Linked DNA regions of Homo sapiens: regions 1, 2, 3 and 5 are each linked to region 4. The links are contacts of gene promoters, found by promoter capture Hi-C in blood cells and fetal thymus (Javierre and others, 2016). All regions are on one chromosome and are shown on one strand. Each heading gives the region's core, a stretch centred on a gene start or on the middle of the fragment in contact. The rest is flanking DNA. Distances are from core to core; before and after follow the strand shown.

Region 1 (2,700 bases), core at 176-2,675, 780 kb after region 4:
TATAGTGATACAAGGAAGGCAAGAGTAGTCAGAATTCTATTTTGGATCAGGATGCCCTCTCTGAAGGGAAGGTGACATTTGAGAAATTAACTGAAGGGAATAAGTTAAGCAAACCTGTGAGAAGAGTTCAGGGCAAAAGAAACACCTGATGAAAAGGCAGTGAGGCACATGCTGGAGATTACCAGGAGAATCTGAGTGAGGCAGTAGAAAAATGAAATATGAGAAGAGTCAGATCAAGGGCCCATGGTAAGCAGTTTAGATTTTATTTTGAATGTGATGCGATGTCTCCAAAGAGCATGACCTCATGTTTGCCTTTTAAAAAGCCTTTTACTAAATGTCTTACTGCTTTTACTATTCCCTCCTAGAGTAAAGAATGGACTCTAGGAGGGAACAGTAAAAGCAGTAAGACATTTAAGAAGATGGGGTTGGCTGGGCACGGTGGCTCGTGCCTATATTCCCAGCATTTTGGGAGGCAGAAGTGGGAGGATCATTTGAGCCCAGGAGTTCGAGACCAGCCTGGCCAACACAGAGAGACTCCGTCTCTACAAAAATTTTTTAAAAAATTAGCCAGGGATGGTGGCACATGCCTGTGGTCCCAGCTACTCAGGAGGCTGAGGTAAGAGGATTGCTTGCGCTCAGGAGGTCAAGGCTGCAGTGAGCCATGACTGTGCCACTGCACTCCAGCCTGGGTGACAAAGTGAGACTCCGTATCCAAAAAAAAAAAAAGAAAGATGGGGTTTAATAAAGTGGAAAGGATCTTGACAAGTGAGATATTCTGGATACGTTGATACAATCAAATACGACGAGGCTAGAGAGTCACCTGCTTGGGGATTAAAGTTCTGAGAGTTGATGTAATCTCAAATTAGAGAGTCTATAAAGAGACAGGAAGAGATGAGAAGGTGTATATTTCGAGGTACAAAGCAGAAGCAGACTCAGTAAAGGAAAACAAGAGAGATGGGACCCAAAATATTACTTGAGAGAAGCCAAAAGTACAAAGAGCCTCATAAAGCAGCAATGTCAAATGCTACAGAATTAAGGAGATGGTGAGAATAAACCAAAGAATTTTACAAGACAGCAATTTCAAGAAGCTTAGACATCTTGATTCAGAGCTATAAAAGGGTTCATTTTTTATTACCAAGTTTTAATTAGTTTTCTTAATTCCCAAATGGGATCCCAAAAAGTTGACTCTGAATTAACTGAAAAGGAGGTCATCCAGGTGGGCCTGGTCTAATCACATAAGCCTTTTAAATCTGGGTCTAGAGAGGAAAGACCAAAGTAAAAGAAATTTGGAAGTCAGAGAGGCAAGCTCCTGGTAGCCTGCACGAAAGCAAACATCAATGTTATGAATGGCCTCTAGAGGCCTTGAGGCAAGGAACTGTAGGCAGGCTGTAGAAGCTGGGAGCAGTGGCTGGCAAGAGGCAGCAAGAAAAGAAGTACTTCAGTCCTGTAACTGCAAGGGACTGAATTCTGCCAACAAACTGCATGAGCCTGGAAGAGGACCCTGATCTCCAAATGAGAACCACAGCATGGCTAATACTTTGCAGCCTTATGTGACCTGGAGCGGAGAACACAGATCATCCGTGCCCAGACTTCTATCCTACAGAACCCGTAAGGTCATTCATGGGTGTTGTTTTAAGCTGCTAAATTTGTGGTATTTGTTACGCAGCAATAGAAAACTAACACAGGTTCGTTCCACTTTCCTATGGAAGGGGCTGCTTCTGTTACCTAGCAGCAAATAGGAAGAGAAGCGAACTTGAAAAAACAAAGCTTGACTTTTATGATCTCTAACTCACTATTCCTAGGGATTCTGTTCAATTACTGCTTGAGTCACAGTACTTGGTTTGCTATCTACATTTTGCCAAAATATCAACTTCCTGAAAATCATGAGCAGTGGAAACAGGCTTTTTAATTTTCAATTTTAGAAAGTAACTTTGGCAATTACGCAAAACTAGAAGTAACTGGGTATTTAGGCTCCTTGAATGTCAAAGTAGTCCCAGCGCCTGGAGACACAGATCCCTGCCCTAATCTCAGAAATGAGCCACAAGGTCATGACTCCTGTCTTTCCTTGAAGACCAGGAGTTTCAGCTCCACAAATGAAAATCTTTCGCTTTTGTTTGGATTAAGAATAACTCAGAAGTGTTCTCAGCTGCGAAAAGAAAGGCACTCCCTCCCAGATAATTACAACCTTGACCCCTAAAATGTGGACTCTCGCTAGAAGTCCAGGCACCTCCTTATTAAGGATGCAACAAGCCGCCGCTCCGCTCGTCCTGACGGGAACTGTAGTTCTCGCCCGTCGACCTTCAGCACTGAAAACCTATCGCGCGCCCAACCGGCGACCCAGACGCCAGCAGCCAGGATTGGTCCTGGACGGGGGCAGCGCGGCCCTGATTGGACTACATGCCCACGAAGCCGCGCCTCCCGCTACTCTCCACACCCCACCCCGCTGCTGCAATAACCTCAAGTCATCCCAGTCCGGCGAACTCCCTGGTGGCTGCCTAGCTGCCCGCCCGGGCCTCTCCCGACGAGGGTGGCCCTGAGGCTCGCCTTTGTCCTGGAGGCTAGGCAGCGACCAAGGCTCCCCCGTTTTTCGCTGACGGTTCTAGTTCAGCCTCCTCACGCGCCTCCGGGAGCCCCAGTGCTCACCTGGGCGGCGGCGGTCACACCCGATAACTGACAGGCCCGCAGCATCTCGGTCAAGCG
Region 2 (2,700 bases), core at 1-2,500, 660 kb after region 4:
CCACCTTGTGATGGGCCTGGCAGACAGCGGGACTGTCGCAGCGGCTGGAGTCTGAGAACCCGGACTGTCTACCCAAGGCTGCCTATTTGCATCCAGAGAGTACTTTAGAGCTGGGAAGGATCTTGATGACCTCAGCAAGCTTCCTGGGTGCCCAATTCACCTTTGTACCCACTGAACACCTACTAATTAACCCGGCACACAGATGGGGCTCAGGAAATGTTAGTTGAAACTGTCCTATTCTGAGAGGAATTTCCACTCTGCAATACTGCCTTCCTGACCCCAATGCTGGAGACATTAACGTGTCCAAAATAGAGCTGGCAACATGAGCTCTAGTACTGTGACCCAAAAGGGACACTCTTAAAGCCTGAGGGAAGTAGGCTATTCTTTCTAGAGCTGCGAGAGCTGGTAGCCCGGAACAGCCTAGGTGTGAAATCTCACCACAAATCACATGCACTTTATAGCAGACACTAGTATAAGGAAGTGACTCAACTAGGGTCACCTGGCATGGTCGTTCGGTGTAGAAGCTAGACCAGAACCCACACCTTTCCATGCTCAGACCCATGTGTGTCCCCCTAATGTTCCTAGGTGCCCCCTAAGCCCAGAGCTCACACTAAGGCTGCTGCCAGCTGCACAGAACATCCCAGGAAGCATCTCCCAGACCCAGTGTCTACATCCACAGCTCACAGAGTTAGCACTAAGCATGTGTGCTCATCACATCAGCAACAGAGCAGCCCTGACCTCATCTGTAGTGGGTGTGGCCACTTCCTCTGGCAACTTCTGTTCTTGGGCCATCAATGCCAGAAGTTTTCGAATCAGAACTACATCCTTCATGACAGCCTGCAAGTTCACCGTCTGGCCATTAGTAAACATCTGGTCTCCTAGGCGACTGACTGGGCGATACCTGCAGGGGGACATACGGAATAAATGAATGTTTAGTGTGAGGAAAGGGTCATGTTCTTCAGCCTCTCACCCATGCCTACTGTAGGGAGCACACCCCACCATGCTCAAAACAACCAACCTTCCTAACCAACATTCCGGCTGGGTGTGGTGGCTTAAGCCTGTAATCCCAGTACTTTGGGAAGCCATGGCAGGTGGATCACTGGAGGTCAGGAGTTCGAGACCAGCCTGGCCAACATGGTGAAACCCCATCTCTATGTAAAATACAAAAATTATTTGGGTGTGGTGGTGCGTGCCTGTAATCCCAGCTACTCAGGAGGCTGAGGTAGGAGAATCACTTGAACCCAGGAGGCAGAGGTTGCAGTAAGTCAAGGTCATGCCACTGCACTCCAGCCTGGGAGACAGTGCAAGACTCCACTTCAAAACAAACAAACAAAAACAACCAACATTCCTATTGCGTTCACAACAAACGGGAAGGAAAGCAAGCCCTCCCACCACCTGCACCTGGAGCGGAACTGCAGCTTTGTCTCTCAGTGCCCTTGGCCCTTTCACCTCTCCTAGAGGTCACATTTCAGTTCCTTAGTACGCTTTTTTTCAGGTGAAATAAGTTAATTAAAGGGTATTACCTTGAGGGCGGCACCACCAAGAAATCTAGAAAGAACACACTGGGATTGAATCTGGATTCCATACCATCATCATCCATTCCCGAAAAAAGGTAGTTCAGAAAGAATCCTGCGTTGGAAAGAAATAAACCAAGAAGACCATTTAAATCTATCACTAAGGGCATGGGAGGACAACCATAAAAATATTACTGAGTGAGGAAAAAACAGAATACAAGATAATATGTAGAGTTAAGGTCACAGTTTTCTTTTTTGAGAAAAGGTCTCACTCCTGTCGCCCAGGCTGCTGTGCAGTGGTGCGATCATGACTCACTGCAGCCTTGATCTCCCAGGCTTAGGCAATCCTGCCACCTCAGCCTTCCAAGTAGTTGGGACTACAGGTGCGTGCTATCATGTCCAGCTAATTTTTGTATTTTTTTTTTTAAGAGATGAGGTTTTGCTTGGTTGCCCAGGCTGGTCTCGAACTCCTGGGCTCAATTGATCCACCTGCCTCAGCCTCCCATATTGCTGTGATTGGAGGCATGAGCCAACGTGCCTGGCCTCATTTTTCTTTATAAAAACAAAAAATAGCCCCTGTGTACATGACAGTTTGTATGCAGGGGATATGATAGCATAAAAATGGGTACTACAGGGACAATAGCTCTTAAACCAGGGACTGAGATGGGCAAGGATGGGGAAGAAACTTCACTTGTTTTTAATCACCCTCCTGGACTATTAAAACACAGACAGCACACACATCATTACTTTGATCTTCATAAAAAATATGTTGAATAAAAAAATTTTTTTTTAAGTTAGCCTCCTCCCACCCCTAACAGTTACTGCCAAGAAAGGATCTTCTGTGGATCAAAGCTTTATTTCAGGTTTCTGGTTACTTTAAAAAATGCCTAGAGAAAAAGATTAAAATGTACTAGGGCCTGCCACAGAAGCAATCATACTAACTCCAGTGCTTTTTTTTTTTTCTGATACCTCTTTAACAACATGTTCATTTGTAAGCGCTTATTACACAGAGGTTATAGTCAGCGTTCCACAACATACTCTCACAAGGGCTTGAATATACTGCGTAGGTTTTGTTATACACTCAAAAGGAAAGAAGGATTTCCCTTATAGTAAAGTCCCAATTTAAATAAGACAGAGTTCATTCTTTGATTCACAGAAGGACAAAGCATTTTACTTACGGGCATTT
Region 3 (2,700 bases), core at 111-2,610, 620 kb after region 4:
TCTGCCTTCCCTGCCTCTTTTGGTGACCAGGACTTGTGGAGAACGTAGGAGGGAAGGAGGTGAGAAGGCAGAATGAATGGCTGGTGAGTAAGTGGTAGGCATGTGACCAGTGTGCCAGTTTTCCTGGAGGTGCAATTTGCCCTTCTATGGTTTTGCCAAGAGCAGGGGAACTAACGGCCCACAGTGACTGCCTTCTCAAGGTTGTGCAGCTCACCTGAATGTAGCAACAGAAAGGGAACAGGAGGGGCAGGGGCAGAGAAGCCTCCCGTCCCACGTAAATAATTACAAACAGAGCACATGACCCCTGGCGGTTTCTGAACGCGCCTGGCAACAGCTCCACCACCTGCTGTTTGGAAAGTCAGATTCACAGAAGCTACAATTACAGACTGTCAGCTGGGTCTTTTCATGGCTGGGGACCGGAGGCCAAAACTTACAGCCCCTAACTCCTAGCTCAGTGCTCTTTCCACTTCATCTCCCCTGCCACCTGCCAGACAATTTACACAAACAGCCCATGTGATGGGTGCCAGTGCAGAGATCTGGGGGGCCTTCTACGCTTGTATATCTCTACCTAGGGAACCATCTGTCTCGTGCTGTTTTTCTCCAGGCTCTGTCAAGGGTCTCATGACTCCACAGCTGGGAGAAGGGAGGGTGGGGGCAAAGAGAAAGAAAAAGAGGGTGGCAGAGAGGAAGGAAGGGGGAGGGATGGGAGAAAGGAAGGAGAAAAAGCTTCTTGGGGGTTGGCTGCTCTTTTGAAAGTGCACTCACACTTCCTCCCATTTCCTGTGGGCGGCCAGAGGCCTGAACACAGCTGCTCTGCTGCCTGGGGCCTGACAAAGGGAGTCCAGACCGCACCCAGCTCATCCACTGCCCCATCTTTTAGCTCTGCCTAACCCCTCAGCCCCATTCTGCTGAGTCCTTGAGGCCACCTCCACCAAAAGCTACTGCGCATGGCTTTATTTATCACAGATTTTCAAGTTCACAAGCAAAACACAGGGAGGAGTTGAAAAAGTACTTCACGGCTGGGAACAAGCCAGGGCTGTCCCTCATCAGGAAGAAGTCTTAAAAAGTGATTTCCTATTTTCAATTCCATGAGGTAATATAAGTAAAAAGAACCCCAGCATGGGCTGGCGCCAGCCTCATGCCGACCTACCTGCTGGGCTGGCCTGGGCCTCCTGTGAACAGAACTGGGGCAAAACATCTAACTCCGTCCACCCTTAGTTATTCTCTAGAGGCCATGAAATCTGAATTCCCATTTCCCAGAAAACCACTGCCAGGCCAGCACAAACGCCCCCTGCACTTGGTAGTTATGTTCCTCGCTGTTAATTAAGGAGCTGGCAGGCGGGTGCACACAGCACTCCCCTGCCACTCTGCCCAGTGCCCAGATAGCACAGAGGACCACTCGACAGAAGGAATGTTCTCAGCCCAGGCTGGCACCAACGCAGGTGCTCCTGAGGCCCAGCCAACAACAACTTCACCCAGGGCTCGTGAACTGGGGCAGGAAGCACCTGGCCAGTGACCCCCGTCCAAAGGACTGAGTTCACATCCAAGCTCCTCCACCCCAAGACCCACCATCCCAAATGCCACCTGCACAGAGGGCTGGCTCGAGGCCAGGCCCCATAAGGTGAGAGGGCAGAGGGCTGAGGGCAGAAAAGTCGTACTGTGTTGCCCACGCCTGCCCCCGTGACTCAGCGACGAATGGGCATGGCTCAGTATGTGTTTGTGGGATGGCTGAGTGCAGGGAGCTTTCTGCTTCTGCTCTGTCATTGCTTCTCTATCTGAGCAGCTCCCAGAAGACCAAGAACTGGTCTAGATTAGAGGCAGTGGTCAGTGGCCTGTGGCCAGATCCTGCAACAGATGAGAACCATCTGGGCCTTACTGGGCTTTTAAAAACACATGAATTAGTTGCTGATGTTTAAAAGTCAGGAGACCTCAATTATATAAAAGCAAAGGCAAGTAAACAAGTGACCCAAGAAAGAAAAAAACGTAGGGGGTGGGAAGCTTGTTTTCTTTCTTTTTAAATCAAAAGATGTGGCCCCCCGGGCCTCCATTCCTGCATAGTAACAGGTGCCCCTTGAGACAGGTTCCACACTCTTCAGTCTGCCGGGGGCCTCCAAGCCTGCTTCACTGGCCTGTCACCTGCTGGGCTATGCAGCCTTTTTGTGTTCACACTTCACCGTCTAGGGTTAGCTGGTGAGTCAAAAATGCTTCGTGGGCTCTTCCAGTCTTGCCCCAGTCCCCAAAAAGCCCATCCTCCTGCTCCCCGGAACTCAGCATTGTGGCCTCTGCTTTTCAAATATCTAACAGTAACTTGAACTTGAGACAAAAGTTCCTTTTCCCTACTGGACAGGAACTCGGGACAGGAACTCGAATTTCTCTGGAGGCAATCCTGGTTATAGAATGGAGATCTAACAGCAGCGTGCCACCCGCACATTGTTCATTATTCACAGAATCTAAATGCATCAGGAACCACATTATACTGCCTGCAGTAACACCCTAGCAAACATTAACAGCATGTGCTGCTCCGACACCACAGAAGCACCGCTTTGATGGTGCTCCCTTCTCTTTACCACACCCACATTTCCATGTCTTAATGCCTGCAAGCCCCAGAAGACAACAATCCTGACGTCAACCCAAGAGAAGAAATGGGCTCAGGGAGTGACGTGTGGCTAAGAAAGTCATACCCACAAGCCAGACTGTGGT
Region 4 (2,700 bases), core at 178-2,677:
CCTCCTTTGACAGATGAGGAAACAGAGATAAAGAGAGATAAAGTAGGTCAAAATCACTTGTTCTAGGTCCCACTTAGTAAGCGGCAGAGGATAGATGGGAGCCATGTAGTGGGAGTCCATGCCCTCCCCACTATCACCGCATGCTAGTGCCAGTTGTGAGTCCTTTCACATGCAAACAGCTATCTCAGCTCTTTTTTTTTTTTTTTTTTTTTTTGAGACAGAGTCTGGCTCTGTTGCCCAGGCTGGAGTGCAGTGGCACCATCTCGGCTCACTGCAAACTCCGCCTCCTGAGTTCAAGCAATTCTCCTGCCTCAGCCTCCCGAGTAGCTGGGATTACAGGCACGTGCCACCACGCCCGGGTAATTTTTTCTATTTTTAGTAGAGATGGGGTTTCGACATGTTGGCCAGGCTGGTCTTGAACCCCTGACCTCAGGTGATCTGCTTGCCTCAGCCTCCCAAAATGCTAGGATTACAGGCGTGAGCCACTGCGCCCGGCCATACCCTCCCTTTTGAGGTGAGGCTCTTGAAGGCCCAGACCTTTCCTCCAGTGCTTTGAGGTCTGATCCTGATGATAATAACACCTCACTCATAACCTGGACTTCACAGTTTACAAAACACCCCTCCTCCTCACCCCCTCCCAAACTCGGTTTATTTTTGTCGTTAAAGCAGAGTTGTAGGCCAGGGTGGACCATAGGTTTTCTTGGTCACGAGAGACTTCCTCCCTCCCTGGGCTCCCCTCTGTAGTGGTGCCAAATAAAAATCTGATCAGTCAAGCCTGTAAGGTAACTAGCGCTAATGTGCAGAGCCAGTCCTGGGCAGGCCTGTTCATTATTTTGCACACTCTTACACCGAAAGGGCCCAGGACCCTCGCCTGACCCAGCCTTGCCTGCCAGGCCTGGGCTGGGTCTCCCAGCCCAAATTCTCACAAGAGGGCCGACTCCGGCCAGAGCGCGCCCCTCTTTGTGCCTCGGTTTGCCCACCTAGAGGTCAGTCCCGCAGGCGTGGCGGGTACATCTCAGGGTCGGCAGAAAGTGCCACCGGGAGCCCAGCCGGAGTTGAGGGCCTCGCGCCGGGCCCACTGTCCAGATCCAGGGCTCACGAGAAAAACGAGGACGCAGGAGAGCCACACGCCAGGACGCGTGTAAGGCCCCAACCCGGCCCCAGCCTGGGCCCTAGACCCCTAAGAACTACAAATCCCAGCAGGCAGTGGGCCGCGGGGCGGGGTCTCGGAAGCTGCGGCCTGTGGTGCCTTTGCTGAGCCCAGGTCCGGAGGGCCCTCGGGGACGGGAGCACCACAACAGACCCCCGGACACACTTACACACACAGTCTCACAAACACACAGTCACACACGCACACACACACACGCGCGCGCGCGCGCCTTTTGGCCCCTCCCCTACAAACTACAAATCCCGGCAGGCAGCGGGCCGTTGGGCGGGGCCTTGGGTGCTGATCCGGACGCAAAGATTGCGCCAGCCAGGGTGGGATCCCGGTAGCTAGGTGGGGGCTACCCTGCTGGGGAAGAGATGGCCTTCTCTCCTCGCAAACCCAGCTCCCCACCCCTGCACGCGCCCCTCTGCCCTGGAGTCGCTGGTCCGAGCCCTCCTTCTCTGCGAACCTGAGCCCCGCCCTGCCCTCCCTACGAGGTTGGGGCCGTGGGAGATGAAGATGGTGGGTGGGGGGTTGGGCCCACAGCCTGCTAAGCAGGCAGAGTGGCCTCCTGAACCCTTCCTCCATCGCCTAGAGCAAACTCCCATTCCTGGAAGGAGGAGCAGCCCAGACCCTGAGACTGGACTAGGTCTGTTAGGGTCCCTGTGTGGCCGGCAGGACTCGTGGTGAAGCCCGGGGAAGGCCTGGGTCCTCCAGGTCAGGGATGTAGGTCCCAGGGTGTGCAGGCCGCGGTATCTGACCATCGTCGGCGCCCTGCGCCCAGGCATCAATTTTACATGGCAGAGTCAAGGTGAGGTTAGGAGGCTGCCAGGAGGTAATAACCAGGGCGCTCGCATTCAGCATCCTCTCTCTCAAAGCACTCTCCTCACACCTCAGGGTCAAATGTCAGAGCTCTTGTCCTAACTTCCCAGGTTGCCCAAGGAGCTTCTGAGGCGCTACAGAAGGGACTTACCCAGACCCTTCAGTGCAAGCCAGGAACTCAGGGTCCGGCCTGCTCGGTAGGATGAGCTGTGCTGAGGCCCTACTTCATCCACCCTTCTGGGCCAGGGCAGCCTCTTTCCAGAGGCCTCTTCTCAGCTGATTTCTGGCTCCCAAGCGGGAGACTCAGGTTACACCTGTATCGGGAGCAGTGACACCACAGTGGCCAGCAACACATTGGACTTTCTGTCTCCAACTCCATTTTCAGCTTTTACACTTCCTGATCTGGGCATATACTGCTACATACTGGATCATCAAGGAAGGAGGAAAATACCTAGTCAATGAAGGTTTAGCCATGACCTTGTAAGTCAGTGAGATTTCATTCTTGTGTGGTTAGTTCGAGGCGAGCTACTTCCTAGAAATATTTCATTTGATCTCTAAACACCTAGAAACAGCTCCAAAAGGGATATTCAAAGTAGATTGCCCAGATTCTCTTGATAGCAGATGTGGGGTTCATATTAACTGGTCGCGTGGTCTCTAAGCATGCCTATTTCTGCCTGGGAAGTTCTCAAAGGTTTGGTTTTCTGAGTGTTTCTGTTAAAACAATCAGCCTT
Region 5 (2,700 bases), core at 28-2,527, 710 kb after region 4:
CAGGGTGTTTTATTTGTTGGCAGCAACCAGTATTTCATAGTAAGAACCATAACTTAACTTTCCTGTGGGTAGATTTTGGAGTTATTTCATGGAGATTTTTACTAGTCCAGACTCTGCAGTGCAGGTGTCTTTTGTGCACTTGACCAGGTGTTGTTACAGGATTAATTTTTAATGGTATAATTGCTTAATTAAAATAATATTGTAATAAATTTCACAGAACTTGGGATTTGTCTCCCCCCCATTTCTTATAACTTACTTGCTGTCAACCAATAATATGTTGAATCAACATTATTTTCACAAGACACTCTACTGTTGTTATTTATTTGTGAACCACTGGCTGACAGGGTATCAGAGTGATACTTACTACTTGCATATTTTCAGTGCTCATCTCTCAGAGATCTAGAACTTGCCTACCAAGTACATGGCCTTTTAAAAACCGGAGACAACTGGAAATTCATTGGACCTGATCAACATCGTAATTTCTATTAGTAAGTGTGTTGGAAACATATCCTTTTGCATGAGTTACCAGATTCTGCAAGTGGGAGGCTGTTGATGTCCCTTCATACCTCACCTCTGGTTTCAGGCAACATGCCAATGATCTAATAGGACATGTTAATTGAGCACTTAGGAATTAAAGCAGTGGTAAAACTGCCAGATTTGAAAGACTAGTTTGTGTCCTTTAAGGGTTTTTTTTTTTTTTTTTTTGCAACACTGTAAAATCCACATATCTTTTTCCTCTACCCCCTCTCATTTTACATTTTCAAATTGTTATAGCAGGGTGAGCCCTGAAGATTTCCTTTCACCTCCCTTGCTTTTGTATTCAAAGATGAAGATACTGGAACCTAGAGATACTCCCTAAATGGGTTTGCTTTTAGGCAGATAAGAACATGAATTTAAGAAGGCAGCATGTTAACAGATGTGTGAGAATTGTTTTCTGTGTATCCAAATCCTTGTTTCACATTGAATGTTTTTAAAATGAATTTGAAATTCAGTATCTATTCACCATGACCTAAGAGTATACAGAGGAAACAGTTAGAAATGACCAGTTGAGGGTAGGGTGTTTAATTGAGAAGTCAGCACACACTGGCAGCTCTTAAACCAAATATTGGCTCGTTTAACTTGAAACTGTAAGTATTTTGAAATTCTTTGTAACATATAATATGCTATAATTTCAACCCTTATTTCCCCTGTTGTTAGACATAGGGACTTTAGACTAAACATACTTTTTGCCTTCATCACAGTTCCAAGTTCTTCGATTTGATTTGTCTAATGGAACAAATTGATGTTACCTTGAAGTGGTATGAGGACCTGATACCTTCAGTAAGATGGTTCATTACTTGTTATTTATCATTCTAGATGAATTGGGTTTCTGCAGATTAATGCTTTAAAAATGTGTTTCTCTTAATCAGGCCTACTTTCCCCACTCCCAAACAATGATACATCTTCTCCAAGCATTGGATGTGGCCAATCGGCTAGAAGTGATTCCTAAAATTTGGAAAGGTCAGTTTTACTTTTTATGTGTCCAGGTGCATCTCACCTCAATATCCTCTACTTTGATAATGAATGTGCTAACATTACTGTTAGGGATGAAAACTTCCATTTTGACTGAACCAAATGTGTTAGTTGAGATGTACTTCAAGGTCATGTGCTCATGTTGCATGTTGGCTATCAGGAGAAAATTTTGTTGAAAATGACTTAAGTCAGTCCCTTCGTGACATAGGAATGAGCTGAGTTTTGTGCACCTGTTGCGGGATATGACCCAAAGAAAATAAATGCTAATGGCGTGGCAGACCCTAAATCTGAATAAAGGTCTTTGACCCGGAAGCCTGTGTAATTCCTCTGTGCCAGTGTTGCCTCACTTCACTAACCACAGTCAGTGATGATTCTGTTTCCAAGTAATAGCCATGAGCATCACGCATCACGGGTGTGTGTGTCTTATGTGTATAACTTGGCTGCAAAATGAAATAGATATTCTGTATCTTTCACTAGGTGACTACTGTATCATAAAGTCAGTAGGCTCTAGTCCCGCCCTCCTGCTTCACACGACTGCTCTAATGAGTGATAAAAGTATATCAAATTCCCAAGTGCTATAAAACAACGTCTTAACCACGTGGAGCTGGTGGCTGCTCCCATGTAGTGCACATGCCGTGATGAACACGTCACTGGAGCAAGGCCCAGGCATTGGCTTTTACATTTGTTCCACTGTGAATCCTGGTGGGTTTCTGGAATCCTGGGATAAGCCTAGAATAAATAACAGCAACTTATTTTTACCTACCAAAAAATAGGTTGACAGTGAACAAAAGTGTGTTGGTTTTACATAACAATGATCACTCCTTGTTCCTTTCTTGTTTCAAGATAGTAAAGAATATGGTCATACTTTCCGCAGTGACCTGAGAGAAGAGATCCTGATGCTCATGGCAAGGGACAAGCACCCACCAGAGGTAGGCCTGAAACTCACCAGCCAGTATATCCTCCCATACTGAGGTCTTCTTAAGGCTAGCTTCCCTGGTTTTATCTGCCATTTTGGAGAGTTCTGCTACCCAAACCCATATTTGAGTGATGATACATCTAAACATATCTTGCCCTTAGCAGAAATCTGTTCTTAAAGTTACCCTCTTTCCTGTAGTCCAAAGCAAGCAACATGAAATTAGCTTCTGTCTTCAGCTTGCTTTTTTAAAAATCTCCATCTACAAAGGAAAT

What was found. The method cuts DNA at HindIII sites, captures the fragments that hold promoters and counts their contacts. A CHiCAGO score of 5 or more calls a contact.
Region 1: a contact is called between a fragment that was not itself captured here and the fragment with the promoter of SH2D6 in region 4, in 3 of 17 cell types (fetal thymus, activated CD4 T cells and monocytes). The highest score is 6.6, in fetal thymus.
Region 2: a contact is called between a fragment that was not itself captured here and the fragment with the promoter of SH2D6 in region 4, in 1 of 17 cell types (monocytes). The highest score is 6.1, in monocytes.
Region 3: a fragment that was not itself captured here is called in contact with the fragment with the promoter of SH2D6 in region 4 in 1 of 17 cell types (M0 macrophages); the score reaches 5.3 in M0 macrophages.
Region 5: a fragment that was not itself captured here is called in contact with the fragment with the promoter of SH2D6 in region 4 in 1 of 17 cell types (monocytes); the score reaches 5.1 in monocytes.

Annotation. Positions count from the first base shown.
Region 1 is chr2:86,192,695-86,195,394 of GRCh38, forward strand. It overlaps IMMT (inner membrane mitochondrial protein), which reads right to left. Exons shown (of 15, transcript NM_006839.3): 1 at 2,644-2,700. The coding sequence starts at 2,688. It overlaps MIR4779 (microRNA 4779), which reads right to left and starts at 414; the gene lies at 332-414. RefSeq lists enhancers at 2,269-2,318, 2,439-2,618, 2,639-2,700. The HindIII fragment of the contact is 679 bases long and covers 1,087-1,765 here.
Region 2 is chr2:86,080,078-86,082,777 of GRCh38, forward strand. POLR1A (RNA polymerase I subunit A) reads right to left here. Exons shown (of 34, transcript NM_015425.6): 8 at 1,524-1,629; 9 at 739-901. Among named protein-coding and RNA genes, the nearest start is that of POLR1A, 24 kb to the right of the region's middle. The HindIII fragment of the contact is 2,227 bases long and covers 138-2,364 here.
Region 3 is chr2:86,035,828-86,038,527 of GRCh38, forward strand. All of the region lies in intron 27 of POLR1A (RNA polymerase I subunit A), which reads right to left. Among named protein-coding and RNA genes, the nearest start is that of POLR1A, 69 kb to the right of the region's middle. RefSeq lists an enhancer at 92-151 and a silencer at 822-871. The HindIII fragment of the contact is 1,272 bases long and covers 725-1,996 here.
Region 4 is chr2:85,417,287-85,419,986 of GRCh38, forward strand. It overlaps SH2D6 (SH2 domain containing 6), which reads left to right and starts at 1,428. Exons shown (of 24, transcript NM_001394463.1): 1 at 1,428-1,644; 2 at 1,743-1,958. It also overlaps a transcript of CAPG not described here. RefSeq lists enhancers at 769-878, 875-1,410, 889-1,048. The HindIII fragment of the contact is 6,915 bases long and covers 1-2,700 here.
Region 5 is chr2:86,131,937-86,134,636 of GRCh38, forward strand. PTCD3 (pentatricopeptide repeat domain 3) reads left to right here. Exons shown (of 24, transcript NM_017952.6): 17 at 382-488; 18 at 1,242-1,320; 19 at 1,410-1,500; 20 at 2,356-2,441. Among named protein-coding and RNA genes, the nearest start is that of SNORD94, 2.6 kb to the right of the region's middle. The HindIII fragment of the contact is 3,229 bases long and covers 1-2,700 here.